Linked DNA regions of Homo sapiens: all the other regions are linked to region 1. Evidence: promoter capture Hi-C in human tissues and cell types (Jung and others, 2019). All regions are on one chromosome and are shown on one strand. Each heading gives the region's core, a stretch centred on a gene start or on the middle of the fragment in contact. The rest is flanking DNA. Distances are from core to core; before and after follow the strand shown.

Region 1 (4,841 bases), core at 1,076-3,575:
ACCACGAGATCTGGGACGGAGATGAGGCAAACGGAAGCGTCAACTTAAACTAGGAGAGACGGGAAGTCTTCCTAGAGGAAGATGCTCTAGGCTGAACTCTGAATCATTAGCCAGACAAAAGTGCAGGAATGAGTTTAGGGAATTCCAGGTAGGGGAAACCACCTATGCTACAGTGCACAGGCTAGAGACCTTGGCAGGTTCTAGGAACTTGAAGAAACCGCTGGACAGGAGCATTTAGGATGATGGCAGGAGCACTCCGCTTTTTGCTAACTGGAAAATTATTTTGGTTGAGTCTCAGTCTACCCATATGCAAAATGGGTATGATAAGCCTTGTATTGCCAGATTGTTGGCACAACAGGAGCTCAATAAATAAAGGACTCTCAAGTGGCTTAGGTCTGCGGGCCAGTGAGGCGCGGTTCCCATTGGGCATGGAGTGGGGGGCGGCTGGAGCCTGCGCGCTCCTGGCTTGGTTTGCGGAATATCTTTATTAACGAGCACTTCAAGGTAAGCCGGCGATGGAAACCAGATGTGGGATCGCGCGGTCGGCGGCGGAGCAAGGACCAGAGATACTAAGGGGGTAGGGTGGGGGTAAGAATTAGCCCAGATGAGATTGGGAGCAGAAGCGCGACCCCCCAGGTATATTTTTTCTTTGGGAGACCTTAGATGCAGAAAGTTGACATCTGACCCACATTCCTTGGTTCACGGTGCTCAGGCCCTCTTTAATTTTACCTTGCACTTTTACCTCTCACCCTACTCCCAGACTCCCTAGAGGTACGTTCTCGCTTAACGATTTTCTCAGCGGTTTAAGGAAGGCTGCTCTCGCTGGTCTCCTTCAACTTGAACCATTCCACAGCCGGGGGCCAGTTTCCCCTCTGCATCTACGCTGTCCGCACGGCCTTCCAGGTCGGTGGAGGGACTAGCCTGAGCAGAGGTTCCAGGGCGCGACGGCTATTTCCCAGCTGTGTGACCTGGACCAGGTGGCCGCCCCTCTCTGAGCCTCCGTTAGCTCATCAGAAAATTGGGGGCGCCAATCTCTAGCACGGTTGTCATGAAGCGAAATCGAGGGGCTGCACGCGCAAAGTTTTTTCCCTTGCTGTGGCGGTGCCAGGGGCCTTGAGGCTCGCAGTGGTGGTGAAACCACAACCTATCAAAACCAAGCAGTTCGTTTTACAGTCGGGGGCAGTGAGGCCAGAAAGGGAAGAGACGGTCTCACCCCTCTCCCCGACCCCTGACCCCAAGGAGTGAACAGGTGACAGCGCGACTATCGGGCAAGGTCAGGGGGTCTCCAGAGTCCGCTCTCTGTACTTCGCCTGGCAGGAAATCCCCTCGCCTGGGCGCAGACGTGGGGCGTGAACGGTGCGGCCTCTAGACGGGAGCGCAGAGGGCAGCGCTCTAAAGCTTCTGAAGCCGGGCCCAGCCCAGGGCTTCTCCAGGGCTTGAGGGAGCACAGATTCCGCTACATCCCAGCCCAGCGCCCTTACAGCAGAGGGAAATAGTTAACAAGACGTGCAAGTGACCATGCACTGGACGACGAAGGCTTGTGTGTGTGTTAATCTCCCGTAGGAACGGGAATGGGGAGGAAGGTTGGAAACCTAGGAAAAGGTGCCAGCGGGAAGGCCCGCAGCGGCGCCCGCGAGCTCGCGCGCAGGAGTCCGTAGGACTCGCTTGCATCCGCAGGCCCGTGGTCCCCCTGGCTTCGAATGTCAAAACCTGTTAGGTTTATTTTGGGGGGCTTTTTTTTAACCTGTCATTAAAATTTGCATTTCCCTTTGCCCTAAGGCAAAGCTCCGACACCCCGCCAATTCTCAGCCTAGCCTCGGGAGCCCTGGGGATCCTGGCATCTCCCCAGCCCCGCCTAGAATCGGAAAAGCCCTCGGGCGCCTCCGGGTTGAATCCCCGCTAGCGAGTTAGTAGCATCTCCTTAAGAGTGGAGAGGAGGGGGCAGGGGCCAGTGGAAGGAGAGAGGAGGAGGGGACGAGAGAGGGGGAAAGGAAGAAGCAAGGCAGGGAAAAAAATTTACTTATTTTTTTTTTCCGCTGCAAAACCTTAAGAGGGTTTGGGAGATCTGGTCAACTTTCCGAAACATCTGAATCTTTTTACTGCCCTCCGTTCTTTCCCTCGGCTAGCTGTGGGGAGGGAGGAAAGAGAGAGAGGGAGAGAGAGAGGAAGGGGGGGGGAGGGAGGGGAAGAGAGAGAGAGGAGGGAGAGAGAGGAGAGAGACAGAGAAAGAAGAGGGGGAGAGAGAGAGAGGCCGGCGTGGAGGGGAGGAGGGAGAGCGAGCAGGCCGGGCAAGGAGTGCACAGCCACAGCCTCCTCGCCTCCCCAAACTCCCAGCCAAGGCGCGCGGTGGCGTCCTCGCGCCCTCGCTCGCGTCCCCGCCCGCCGCCTGCGCAAGCCAGGCATGAATGCTGAGACTTGCGTCTCTTACTGCGAGTCGCCGGCCGCTGCCATGGACGCCTACTACAGCCCGGTGTCGCAGAGTCGGGAGGGCTCGTCGCCTTTTAGGGCATTTCCCGGAGGCGACAAGTTCGGCACAACTTTCCTGTCGGCCGCCGCCAAAGCACAGGGATTCGGGGACGCCAAGAGCCGGGCCCGTTACGGCGCTGGGCAGCAGGACCTGGCGACACCCCTGGAGAGTGGAGCTGGGGCGCGGGGCTCCTTTAACAAGTTCCAGCCCCAGCCGTCGACCCCGCAGCCCCAGCCGCCGCCGCAGCCGCAGCCGCAGCAGCAGCAGCCGCAGCCCCAGCCGCCCGCGCAACCGCATCTTTACTTGCAGCGAGGCGCCTGCAAGACGCCCCCGGACGGCAGCCTCAAACTCCAGGAAGGCAGCAGCGGCCACAGCGCGGCCTTGCAGGTTCCCTGCTACGGTGAGTGCACGTGCGGGTCACCTGGTGCTGGGGACCACGGGGTGCTTGGCTTCCGCATCCCTTGAAACTGGTGGCTTGCGGGAGGTATGAGTTGGCGGGCTGGGGGCGGGGTGGTGACTCTGGTCGGTAAACGGGATCGATCGCTGCGAGGGAGCCAAGGGATCTGTTCTGTCTCCTTCTTGTCCGCCGGCCTAGGCACGGAGCGTTTCGGCTGTTAAACTCGACTTGGAGTTTGTTTTTCCCGGTCCCTTCGGCATTTCCCCAAACCGCTCGCTTTGCGCTGCCCGCTGGGCGGGATTTGAAGCGGATGCTTCTTACCGGCCCAGGGCGTGCGGCGGCAAGGAGTCTCCGCGCAGCGCTCTGGCGCTGGGCTGCGGGGCTGCGGGGCTGCGGGGCTGCGGGGCTGCGGGGCTGCGAGGCTGCGGGGCTGCGGGGCTGCGGGACAGCAGGACTGCAGAAGCCTCGCTCCTCGCCGGCTGGGAGGCTCCTCGGGCGGCGCCGCCGCAGGTGAGAGCGCCGCAGGTGCGGAGCCAGGCGGGAAGCCCGGAGCGTGGTTGGCCGAAAGCTCACGGGAAATCCAGGCGCACTGGCGCAACACAGTGCGGAGCCAGAGACCCTAGGGTCCCAGGGGACACTGTGGTCTGGCAAGACCCGAGTCCTGGGACCCTGAGCGCTACTGGCAGTGGGGATGCGGGCAGGCCAGTTCCCCTGGAGCTTCTCCCTCGGCGATTCTTGGAGGCGGCAGGCCTCTGAACAATGGTTTAGGACAGAGTAGGAAGGGAGACAGGAAGTCCCGAGTCCCAGGTGGCCCAGAGCTGTGGCAAGAGAGAAGGGTCTGGGTCCTGATTTGAGCCCACGGGGAACCCGGGGGAGCTGGCCTAAATGACCTCCAAGCTGCCTTGAACGCAGCCACAGGAGGCAGGCCTGGGCCCCCCAGAGCACAGCCACCATTGCCCGGGAGAGAGAGACACTCAAGGACGTCTCTAGCCAGAGCAGCTCAGTAGCCTAGGCCTTCTCTTCTTCCAGAGAATCGGGGTTCCTGAACCCCAAAGCGGAAGGGGAAGCAAAGACGCAGAAAGGGAAAAACCTTCTCTGGGCCAGGAGTCCTGAGCACATACCCGGAGGCCTTGGCCTTCAGGTCCGGCCCTGGTGGGAAGAGTTGGGGGCAGGGAATTTGCCCTGATCCAGGCTGATGGAGAGGCACTAGGCCTGGGGACAGAGGCTGGGACACGGCGGAGGCCTTGGTGGCTAGAATAACTTTGGGAAAACAGCCGATGGCAGATATTTTCTCGTATTCAGGTTCCTTCTTTCACAGGCGCAGAACTAGTTCATAGATGGCTGCTGACAAACATTCACAGTCATATGCTTGTCTACAATTGCACTCTACACACACACACGCAGAGAGCATCTTCTTTAGGAGCCGATGTGGTCATACCCCAAGAACACATGCCCATGTGGCCTCGAATGAGCCACATACTCCCAAACCCATAGGACAGAACTGAGAGAAGATTTAGAAAGATTCAGTGGCCCTTCCCCACTTCCTCCACCTTCCTCTTCACCTCCAGTTGGAATGAGATCAGGCATTCAGATCACAGACCCCCAAGGCTCCACACACAGACACCCACAGCTCCACATGCAGGCACACACAGTTCCACACACAGACACCCACTGCTCCACACACAGACACCCACAGCTCCACACACGGACACCCACAGCTCCACACACGGACACACACAGCTCCACACATGGACACACACAGCTCCACACACAGACACACACAGCTCCGCACATGGACACACACAGCTCTCATACAGGCACTCTTTCCGTGCTAAGCCAGCAGAGACTCTCAGCCCTGTCCGTACTGGCTGTCCTTCCCAGCCCAGGGATGCAGGCCCCAGCTCGTCCCTGTCATTCAGGACTATTAGGTGAGGGCAGGTCGCAGACTAGGGGACCCATGGAGGTTCATCCTGCATA
Region 2 (4,841 bases), core at 1,251-3,750, 58 kb before region 1:
ACTACGAATTGGAGATGCAACCCAGGCAGGGAAGGTCAGTGTGCTTTCACGCCTTTGCTATATGGATGCTGGAAGAGATAGAGTGTCTCCTCCTTAGGATCCCAAGATGGCAGCACCACGTATGTCTTAGGCTTCCAGTGGGTGTCTTTCCCACTGTGGAGAAAGAAAGACTGCCTGAAAGAAAGCCACAGAGAAAAGCAGAGTCAGAGGTAGAGAGAGACAAAGACACAGAACCGCTGGATCTAGCCATGCCTGAAGCCATTGACACTTGGAATTCTCAATTACAGGAGCCAATATATTTTCCTTTTTGCTTAAGCCAGTTTTCATTAGGTTTCTGCCACTTGCAACCAAGAGGGAATACCTCCCTGCTCTCAGCCAAACAAGGGGTCTGGACTCTGGTATGGCCCAAGTTCTCTCCTTCCTAGCAGCTGCCACCTCCTCATCCCCTGCAGAAGAATCTCCAACGATTGACTGTCTGAGCCTTCTGAGCCTCCAATCCTCCAGGCTCCCTTCCAGCTCAGACCTCAGACTGCATAGCTCTTGTACAGAGTCCCAGCCTCCCAGATTTCTAGACTCCTTCCCATGCACCTCCTGGTCATGGCGATGATGGGGCAAGGTAAGCAGGGCAATGGCTGTGTGGGTTTCTGTCAAGCCCAGGCCTTAGAAAATCTAAACCAGGGGCAAGATATTCCTCCAACTGCTTTAAGGGACACTTTCTTTTAAATAGACTTGTGAAACCTTCGTTTTCAAAATACCAGCACGTCATTTAATTTTTTACTTCTCCAAATGTGAATATTGTCAAAAGATGGGCTTTTTAGTTCATTGTTTTAGTTCAGCTGCTTCTTTTCCCCAGCATGGAGTTATTCTGAAAGCCAAGTGTTGAGGTAGATTGGGGGATGGGGGATGAAGGCGAAGAAGAGAGGTGCTCCAGGAAGAAAGGGGGAGCAGGCCCACAGGCCCACTTGATACAGTAATCAGGGGCATAGCCACATGGAAATGCTTTCATCAGCCAGAACTCAGCTCCTGCCATGCCAGACACAGTGGTTGCCTGCCTGGCAGCCTTTTCTCCTCCTCCTTCCTGGCAGGGCCCCATTTTTTGGGGGGGAATATCTACCTCCTCTCCCCTACCAGTCAAAGGATGGTCCCATTGCCAGTTCCAAGGGTGTCTCCCTTACTAAGCCAACCACCGTAGGTCCCATTCCCCTGTCTGGGACTGGTTTAGACATGGGTCTGTGATATAATTCTGTCCAAGAAGATTAATGAGAAACCTGCTGGGGCTCTCAGGAAGAGTTTCTTCATTGATTTACAAAAGGCATGATATACAGGGAAGAGACCCCCCTCTTATTCACTGGCCAGCGTCATGTCTGCCTATGGTGCCTGGAACTGCTATGGTCACTTGGCCACCATGAGGGGGACTCATCTGCACGAGAACCTGACCCTCAGAGCATGCACAACTCACACATTCCACTGCAAGCACCACCCTACCCCAGGGCCTTTGCACCTGCAATTCCCTCTGCCAAGAACACTTTCCCTCAGCTCTCACCTGGCTCACCCCTTCACTTCATTAAGGTCTCTGCTCAAATATCAGCTCCTCAGATAGACTCCTCTGACTTCTCTCCCCTCTGCCATTCTATTCTCTTGCTTTGTTATTCATAGCTTTTAATTGACATTGTGTTATATATTTAAATTACATACACATGCATTGTGTATAATATACACATACACTGTGTCTATATAATATATCATAAACACTTATATATGAGTACATATTAAACAGACTGAGTATCCCCTATCTGAAATAGTTGAGACCAGAGGTGTTGCAGATTTCAGGGTTTTTTGTTTTTTTTTTTTTTTTTCAGATTTTGGAATATTCACATTACATAATGAGATATCTGAAGGATGGGACCCAAGTCTAAAGACAAAATTTATTTATGATTTATGTGCACCTCATGTACACAGCCTGAATGTAATTTCATTTTTGCTTTGGGGACCCAGAATAAACCGTGTTCTGCACCTGCGTTTTCACTGTGACCCATCAAGTGAGACTGTGTGTAAAATTTACCGTTTGTGGCATCATGTTGGCGCTCAAAAAGTTTCAGAATTTGAAGCATTTTGGATTTTCATATTAGGCATTCTCGCCCTATGTATCATGTATATATGCCATACATATAATATACATGATATATATACAGCGTGTGTGTATGCGTCTATTTAATCATCTTTCACACAATAATGTAAGCGCCACCAAGGCAAGGACTTGGTTTTTTTCCCCACTGTAACCCCAGAGCCTAAGAGCATGCTTGGTACAGAGAAAGGTGCCTAGCAATATCTGATGGAAGGGAGGCAGAAAGGCAGGAGGCCTGTGTACTTGAGGACAGCATGAAGCCTCTAAATTAGGCAGTCCTCAGGACTTCTTGTTTCTGGTGATAATACATATTCCTTATTAAATAAGTTTAAGCAGGTCAGTGTGGGGTTTTGGTCTCTAGCCACCGAAAACTCCCTATTTTGTGTATCTGTGCCATTCCCTGTGCCTCGGATGCCCTTCCCTGACAAGTCTCCCTGCTGTTCCCCTCTCCATCCAAGCTTGGCTGCAATTCTGCTCCCTCTCCAGGGTGCTTGAGAACGAAGGTTTTGCATCAGCAAAATCAGGGTCAAATCCCAGTTCTGCCATTCGCCAGGTGACAGGGACCTTTGGCAAGTTCCTTAGTTCCTCTGAGCTTTAGTCCCCTAGACTGTAAGATGGGAATTGCAGTGAAAGTGCCCACCTTGTGATATGCATTCAGCAAGATAATAGAAGGGTTTCAGAGACAGGAGGAGTTGGGTAACAGGCCTGGCTTTGTCACTTTCAGACAATCTGTCTGCATCCAAGCTCCTCCTCCGTCATATGGAGACAACAATTGGTGCTGACTTAAATGAATTAATGAGATGACATGTATGAATTGCTTAGTACAGTGCTGAATAAGATATTAGGTGTGTGGGCCTGATGCAGTGGCTCATGCCTGTAATCCCAACACTCTGGGAGGCTGAAGCAGGCAGATCATTTGAGCCCAGGAGTTTGGGACCAGCCTGGGCAATATAGGGTAACCCCCATCTCTACAAAAAAAATTTTTTTAATTAGCCAGGCATGGTGGCATGTGCCTCTAGTCCCAGCTACCAGAGAGCTGAGGTGGGAGGATTACCTGAGCTGGGAATATGAGGCTACAGTGACCGTGATCACGCCACTGCACTCCAGCCTAGGCAACAGAGAAACTCTGTCTCAAAAAAACAAAAAAAAAAAAGATATTAGGTGTGTGTAGGTATACCCATAAACATTCCCTTTCAAGGATGCAGGGGCCTCAAGACCCAGCCTCTGTACTGAAGAGGCCACAGGGGATGGGGCTAAAGAGACAGGAAAGACCCAGTTTCTGTGGGGCAGGCAAAGGTGTCTGGGTATGCTTGAACAGGTTGACTTCTGACTCTCCCCAGGCAGGGTCAGCCTCTTCCACCCTGGAAGCAGTTTGCACTGGGCCAGTGTCTTACCTAGGTGGGAGGCCCACAAGCCCCCGTGGCACTGACCTTGTGAATTTCAGTCCCAGGTCAGTCCCCTCCACTGCTCACCGGAAGCAGCAGAGGCCACTCGCTCATCTCTCCGCTAGGCTGTTTTTAAACTGAAGCCATTAGGCTTGCTAATCGCCTGTAATCACCTTGTTTGAATTAGCATGGCAAGTGCTTCCGACTAAACGGTCTGTTATTCCAAATAACCCTCATTGGTTTTAATTATGTACCCTGGAATGCACGGCCTCCCAGCCCTCTGCTTTATTAGGGAGGGGTCCTGTAAACCACAGGATGGGGCGTGGTTCCTGACCTCCCCTCTACAGGCCCCATAATAAGGAGAAGCAGGAGAAGGTCTTTTGCCCGTCCAGACCCTCCCTTAGGTCTATTTTTAAACCCAACACAGGATGGAAGAGATGACCCCAGTGCCCCTCTGCTGCCCCCATTCTTGGGTTCCATCTGCTTCCAGCAACCAACAGAGCTGTGGCCCAGAGACTGGCAGAAAGCCCCCAGTCCCTTTCTGTTTGACTTTGGAATATGCCATCCCATTCTTTTGATCCAGACTGGATTTCCTCATTCTGTTTGGCTTTGGAATATGCTATCCCATTCTTTTGATCCAGACTGGATTTCCTCATTCTGTTTGGCTTATCCAGTTATTATTTTTAACATCACCCGAATTTACAGTTGAAGAAACAGACGTAGAGAGGTGGTGGCTAGCTCCAGGGCATGTCAGAGAGCAGAGTTTCTCGAACTCAATGTGCACACCAAGCCTGGGGATCTTGGCAAAATGCAGATTTAGATTCGCTGGGGCTGGGGTGGAGCCTGGGAGTCCTTGTTTCTAACCAGCTCCCAGGTCTGAGGACTGACCACACTTTGAGTAACAGGTTGCTATGGCACTGGCTGCAGGGAAGGAGGCTAACATGATCACCTCCTCCCCTGGCCAGGCGCCGTGCTAGGCTCTTTACAATTCTTATTCCTGTTTCATACCTGGCCAATACCACACACCATCCTGGAAGTAGGAATATTTATCCCCACTCCCTTACCTGAGAGGTGCACGGGGAGGTTTTCAGACTCAGCCAGTGACAGGGGAAGGTCGGGAGCTCATGGCTCACCCAGCAGCCCCTGAGGTTGGGAGTGTGGGCATGGATGGGGTAGGGGACAAGGAAGAAAGCCCCGTTTCCTAAGAGACGCCGGCTGCTGAGGGCAGACCTGAACCCAGAATCCAGAGCTTTCCTGGCCTCCCGACCCTATGTCCTATGCCCCATCCACACTGTGAATTCTTGGCCGAGGTCCCTGTTTTACCCAGGGCT
Region 3 (4,841 bases), core at 1,520-4,019, 40 kb before region 1:
ATAAACATTTAATCATAATCCACCCCCTTATTTACAACAACTTATGGTTTCCTTTGCTTTTAACATCAATCTTGCCATGTTCTTCGCAGCCCTACCCCAGCTGCCTCCTGCTGCCTCACTGTGAACCAGCTCCTCCTGCTACACCCGTCTGCTCCCTTCTGCCACAGGGCCATTACATATGCTGTCTCTTCTTTCCTGAACACTCTTCCCTCCATTTTCACATACTTAACAGATCCCAACTCCAGCTTCACTCCCTCCACAAAGCTCTCCCAGACCTCCCTGTCAAGGCCTTTTTCTCTAGTTTTATGTCTTTATATCTCTCCTTTTTAGTGATTTTATATTTCTTCCCTTTTCAACTATGCGCTCCGTGAAGGCACACACAACATCTGTGTTTGCTCACTATTGCCCCCGAGTGTCTAGGACAGAACCTGGCACTCATTCGGTAGGTTTGAAAAAAAGTACTATTAACCGTGGTTGTGGGGTGGGGGGGATACAATATGGAAACACTTTTACTTTCTAAGTCATGTATATTTCTGTAATGTTCTACTTTTTTCAGAAGTACTTGTTTCTTTTGTAATCAGAAAACAAAGATTTATTTTTAAAACAATGAAAAATAATGTTTTTTTCTTCCCCCATGGAGATCCCTTTGGCCAGAGGTATTTGTTCCACCATCAAAATATATGAGAAATGGCCTCATTTAAGTTTTGCTCCCACAGATTTTCCTGAAACCTTTGGTGCTTTTTACTGTGTCTCCTCTAAGGAGCACCTCCAGACAATTGTATAAATGAACAAGCAGCCAAAGAATATGAACAGAAAGACTCAGAAGAGAGTTAGTCTTCCATATTGGGATTTCCCCCCTTCAGTGTAATACTCAACGTTGTGATTTTTACTGTATGCATCCAGGAAGTCATGTCTTCTGCTAGGAAAATGATTCCTGATTCACATGATGGGATTAAAGTGCCAGTGATCCCTGGAGCTTCTCTGTGAGCTCCAGGACATCCAGGTGCTCAGCCACCTGGTCACAGCTGAGAATAATGGTGCTCTGCCAAAGTCAGGCAGAGGGGGCTGGATGTCCCCTGTGTCCCAGTGTGCATGTCCCAGCCCTGTGGCTCACTCCCTCTGTGATCTTAGGCAGGTACCTCTGCTCTCTGGGCCTCAGTTTCCCCATCCATAAAATAGGGAGGAGGGATTTGGTCAGTTTCCAAATTTCATTTCGGCTGGAAGTCCTATTTCTCTTCAAACAAAATCGGAAGCAGACGTTCAATATAGAAACAGATAAAGCAGAACTTCTTTGTGTTTGAAGTGGAAATGGGGAACTGAGATGTTTTCATTTGCCACCTCTTTTGCCTGCCTGACGGCCCCACCCCCTGCAACACTTGTATGTGTGTGCACACATGTATACATACACACGCGCACATGCACATACACATGTGCACACATGCAGCAGCAGATTTGGGGACACCTCTACAGAGGCACGAGGGAGCAGAGCGCATTCTGCAACTTGCAGACTAGACCATCTCTAAACCTTCTCCCATCTCTGACATGCCATGGATTCTGATTTTGTTTATTTGGATAATATTTGTGCCTGATTCCTGTCTTGCCTCGAGTGTGTTTTAATTCACTCATTTCCTCAGCGGATATTTACTGGTCAATGAAAAGGCCTAAGTGCCGGGGATTATGCTGGGGTTACCGCAGCACCCCAGCTGAGCACGGCCTACCCTCATGGAGCTTTTACAGTCCTTAGGAGGAAATGAATTACCAAACCACCAATGGCAGAGACTGTGCATGACAGTGAGAGCAAGCACTGTAAAGACAGACTCCGAGGTCCTGGAGAGCACATAACCCCAGGGCTGGGCTGAGCCCAGGCAAGCAGGTGACATTCCAGTAGAGATCTAAGGAATAAGGAGGGGAAGGGGAAAGGAAGAACATCCAGAGAAAAGAAACAGCGTGTTCCAAGGGCCTGAGTCCGCAGCTTAGCACATCTGGGAGCAGAAAGAGGGCAAGATGGCTGGATCCCAGTGTACGAGACAATAGGGAAGCTGAAGGATGGGGGTGTTAAGGAGTCTGAAAGGGAAACCCTTGAAAGAAATGTGAGCCTGGGAATGACATACATTCAGCAGATTTATTGAGCTCCTACTGTGTACAGTCACTGTTCTGGACCCTGGGGATAAAACAGTTAAAAAAAAGGCTGGGTATAGTGGCTCATACCTATAATCCCAGCGCTTTGGGAGGCCGAGGTGGATGCATCACCTGAGGTCAGGAGTTCGAGACCAGCCTGGCCAACATGGTGAAACCCCGTCTCTACTAAAAATACAAAAATTAGCCAGGTGTGGTGGCATGCTTCTGTAGTTCCAGCTACTTGGGAGGCTGAGGCAGGAGGATCTTGAACTCGGGAGGTAGAGGCTGCAGTGAGCCAAGATCATGCCACTGCACTCCAGCCTGGGCGACAGAGCGAGACTCCATCTCAAAAAAAAAAAAGACAAAAACTTCTGCCCTCGTGGAGTTTACATTTTAATGGTAGAGGGAAAGACACAATAAACAAAATAAAAACAGATGAGTTGTCAGAGGCAGAGGCAGGCAAATCCAGGCTTTCACAGAGCCTGAAGTGATCTCATATAATGTCAGGGTAAGGAACTCTTTAAGATTAAAAAAGAATAAAAAATTGTAAATATCAGTTGAGGTGCAAAGCCTTGGAAGCTACCAGTGAGGGGTCCTGAAACTTAGGAATCATCAGCTTGCTGGAGACTCCACCTCTGGTCAGAAGGTGATCAATGAGATGAAGAAAAATCAAGCACTGGGGGCAGCCGGCCTTGGGAGAATTGGGGGAGGGGCAGCACTTGAAATGGGGTAGACAGACAAGGCTTCTTCATTGAGAAGGTGACCTCGGGGAAACCTAGAGGAGGTGAGGGAGCCACATGGATATTTGGGAGAAAAGCATTCCAGGCAGAGGTGTTGAGCTGGAAGCCTGCCTGGAGGAGGCCAGAATGGTGAGGAAGAGAGGGGAGGAGACAGTCCAAGACGTGGCCTGGGCCAGTGGGATCAGACTAGCATTCTTGCTTGCAAGGTCATCCTGACCACCATAAGGATCCCAGGCAGCAGAAGTGGAAGCCCAGAGACCAGGTACCAGCCAGGCTCATTCCAGGGAGGGATGCTGAGCCTGAAACCCTGCACAGGCCACAGAAACAGAGATAAGGCAGCTTTCCAGAGCTACTAGAGGGTGCATTCAGGGCAACTTCTCAGCACAGCTAAGGAGTGGCTGGCAGAAAACAGGAAAGAGGGAAATGGGAGAAAAAATATCAGAGCATGCAAATCTCCTGCATCATTTTATTCTCACCCAAAGGAAAACAAATTGCCAAAGGAAATAAAAATGCTTTTGGACAAGTTAAGTGGTGGTCTTCTGTGTGCAAACGTGACTCTCTCCTCAAAGGCTGTTTGTCATCCTCAAAGATGGCAGGGCCTTGGGGGAATAGCCACAAAGAGGCCATGTGTGCTCCCAGCCCGGTGAACCCGCAGGCCTGTGAAGCCTCCATGGGGATGGCAGAGGGGAAGGAAGGCAGATCCTTTTTGAAGACAGCAAAGTAACCCCGAGGCTGGTGATGCCAGGAACACTGGGGCATTGACCGACTCGGGGCCTGGATTTCTCCCTTGCCAGGGAAGGAGGAAAGCGAGGGGTGGATGGGAGGGGGCCTGTGGCTGTCATCCCGAGGCTCGTGGTTTGGGTGGCAGAACAGACCTAGGGATTGAGCGGGGCCATGGCAAGTGAAGCAGCAGAGTTTCAGGCAGGCGCCTCTGACACAGCCCCAGGCAGTTCTGCTCCCAACAGTTCACCTTTCATGGCCAGTTGCACCTTCTGAACAGTTTGTGACAGCCAGCCTGGTGCAGCAGCCAGCCATTGGTGTCTTCCAAGGCTGGGACGGGTTTCTGGCTGGGAAGTTCTTCACCCTCCCCGTTCCAGATGGGGAACACCTCCCAAGAGATTCAGTGTCACTGAGCAAGTTAGAGGCTGAGGGGTCTTGGGGACGCCAGTTGCCCTTCTTTTTAATCAGTGCACCATATTTGGAAGCAGAACAAATGGTGTTCTGGCTTTGTGTTGGAACACAAATGGCTTTGTGTTCCAACTCTGCCACTCCATGCTCTGTGAACATGGGCATGTTACGTAACCTTCTGAGCCTCAGCTTCCTCATCTGTAAAGTGGGCATTGTACTAATACTGCCACCTCCCAGGGCAGCTGTGAGGATTAAGTAAGTGCCTAGAAAAGACAAGTGCTCAGTTTATGGTCAAATAAAATAACAGTATTATTTGCAGACTAAAATTCAAGGATCCTAGGCTGACACTCAACAGGGACAATGGCACTGAGGGTTTGAAACTATAGCTGGAAATCTGAGACATATGGGCAGTCCAAAGGGCCTCGGGCTCCAACACACTGATCCAAAAATTGAAAACCCAAAGACTGTGGGAATTCTCTGTGGCTGGAGAAGTCAGGCTCCTCCAGCCCTGGGAAGACGGAAATGAATCCAGTCAGTTCAGAGGCAGAAGGCGACCAGCCTTGGCAGGCCCGGGAACAACCCTGGGAGGTGACCAAAGGTTGGTGATCATTGCAGGAAAACTGCTGTGTCCAGAGAGAAAAGCTTCTTCCAGAGCAAGGTACGGCAGTTCAGGACTGCAACTTAGACCTCCAATGGGGCAAAAGAGGCTGGACACTAAAACTGACACGAATAACCAGGGGGCCAGTCCCATGTGGCATTCAAGAAGATTTCCTTGAATGGGAACTGGGGCCAAGCGTGCGAACTTGGGAAGAATAGGATTAATGAGGCATAGACCTGTCTTTGTAGAGCTCAGGA

What was found. Contacts are between HindIII fragments. The study calls those that stand out against the background at their distance.
Region 2: a contact is called between a fragment that was not itself captured here and the fragment with the promoter of ALX4 in region 1, in 1 of the 25 tissues and cell types used here (mesendoderm cells).
Region 3: a contact is called between a fragment that was not itself captured here and the fragment with the promoter of ALX4 in region 1, in 2 of the 25 tissues and cell types used here (neural progenitor cells and thymus).

What each region holds. Positions count from the first base shown.
Region 1 is chr11:44,307,623-44,312,463 of GRCh38, reverse strand. ALX4 (ALX homeobox 4) reads left to right here and starts at 2,325. Exons shown (of 4, transcript NM_021926.4): 1 at 2,325-2,867. The coding sequence starts at 2,402. RefSeq lists an enhancer at 1,419-2,347. The HindIII fragment of the contact is 16,665 bases long and covers 1-4,841 here.
Region 2 is chr11:44,365,713-44,370,553 of GRCh38, reverse strand. No RefSeq gene overlaps it. Among named protein-coding and RNA genes, the nearest start is that of ALX4, 58 kb to the right of the region's middle. The HindIII fragment of the contact is 4,409 bases long and covers 296-4,704 here.
Region 3 is chr11:44,347,665-44,352,505 of GRCh38, reverse strand. No RefSeq gene overlaps it. Among named protein-coding and RNA genes, the nearest start is that of ALX4, 40 kb to the right of the region's middle. The HindIII fragment of the contact is 7,828 bases long and covers 1-4,841 here.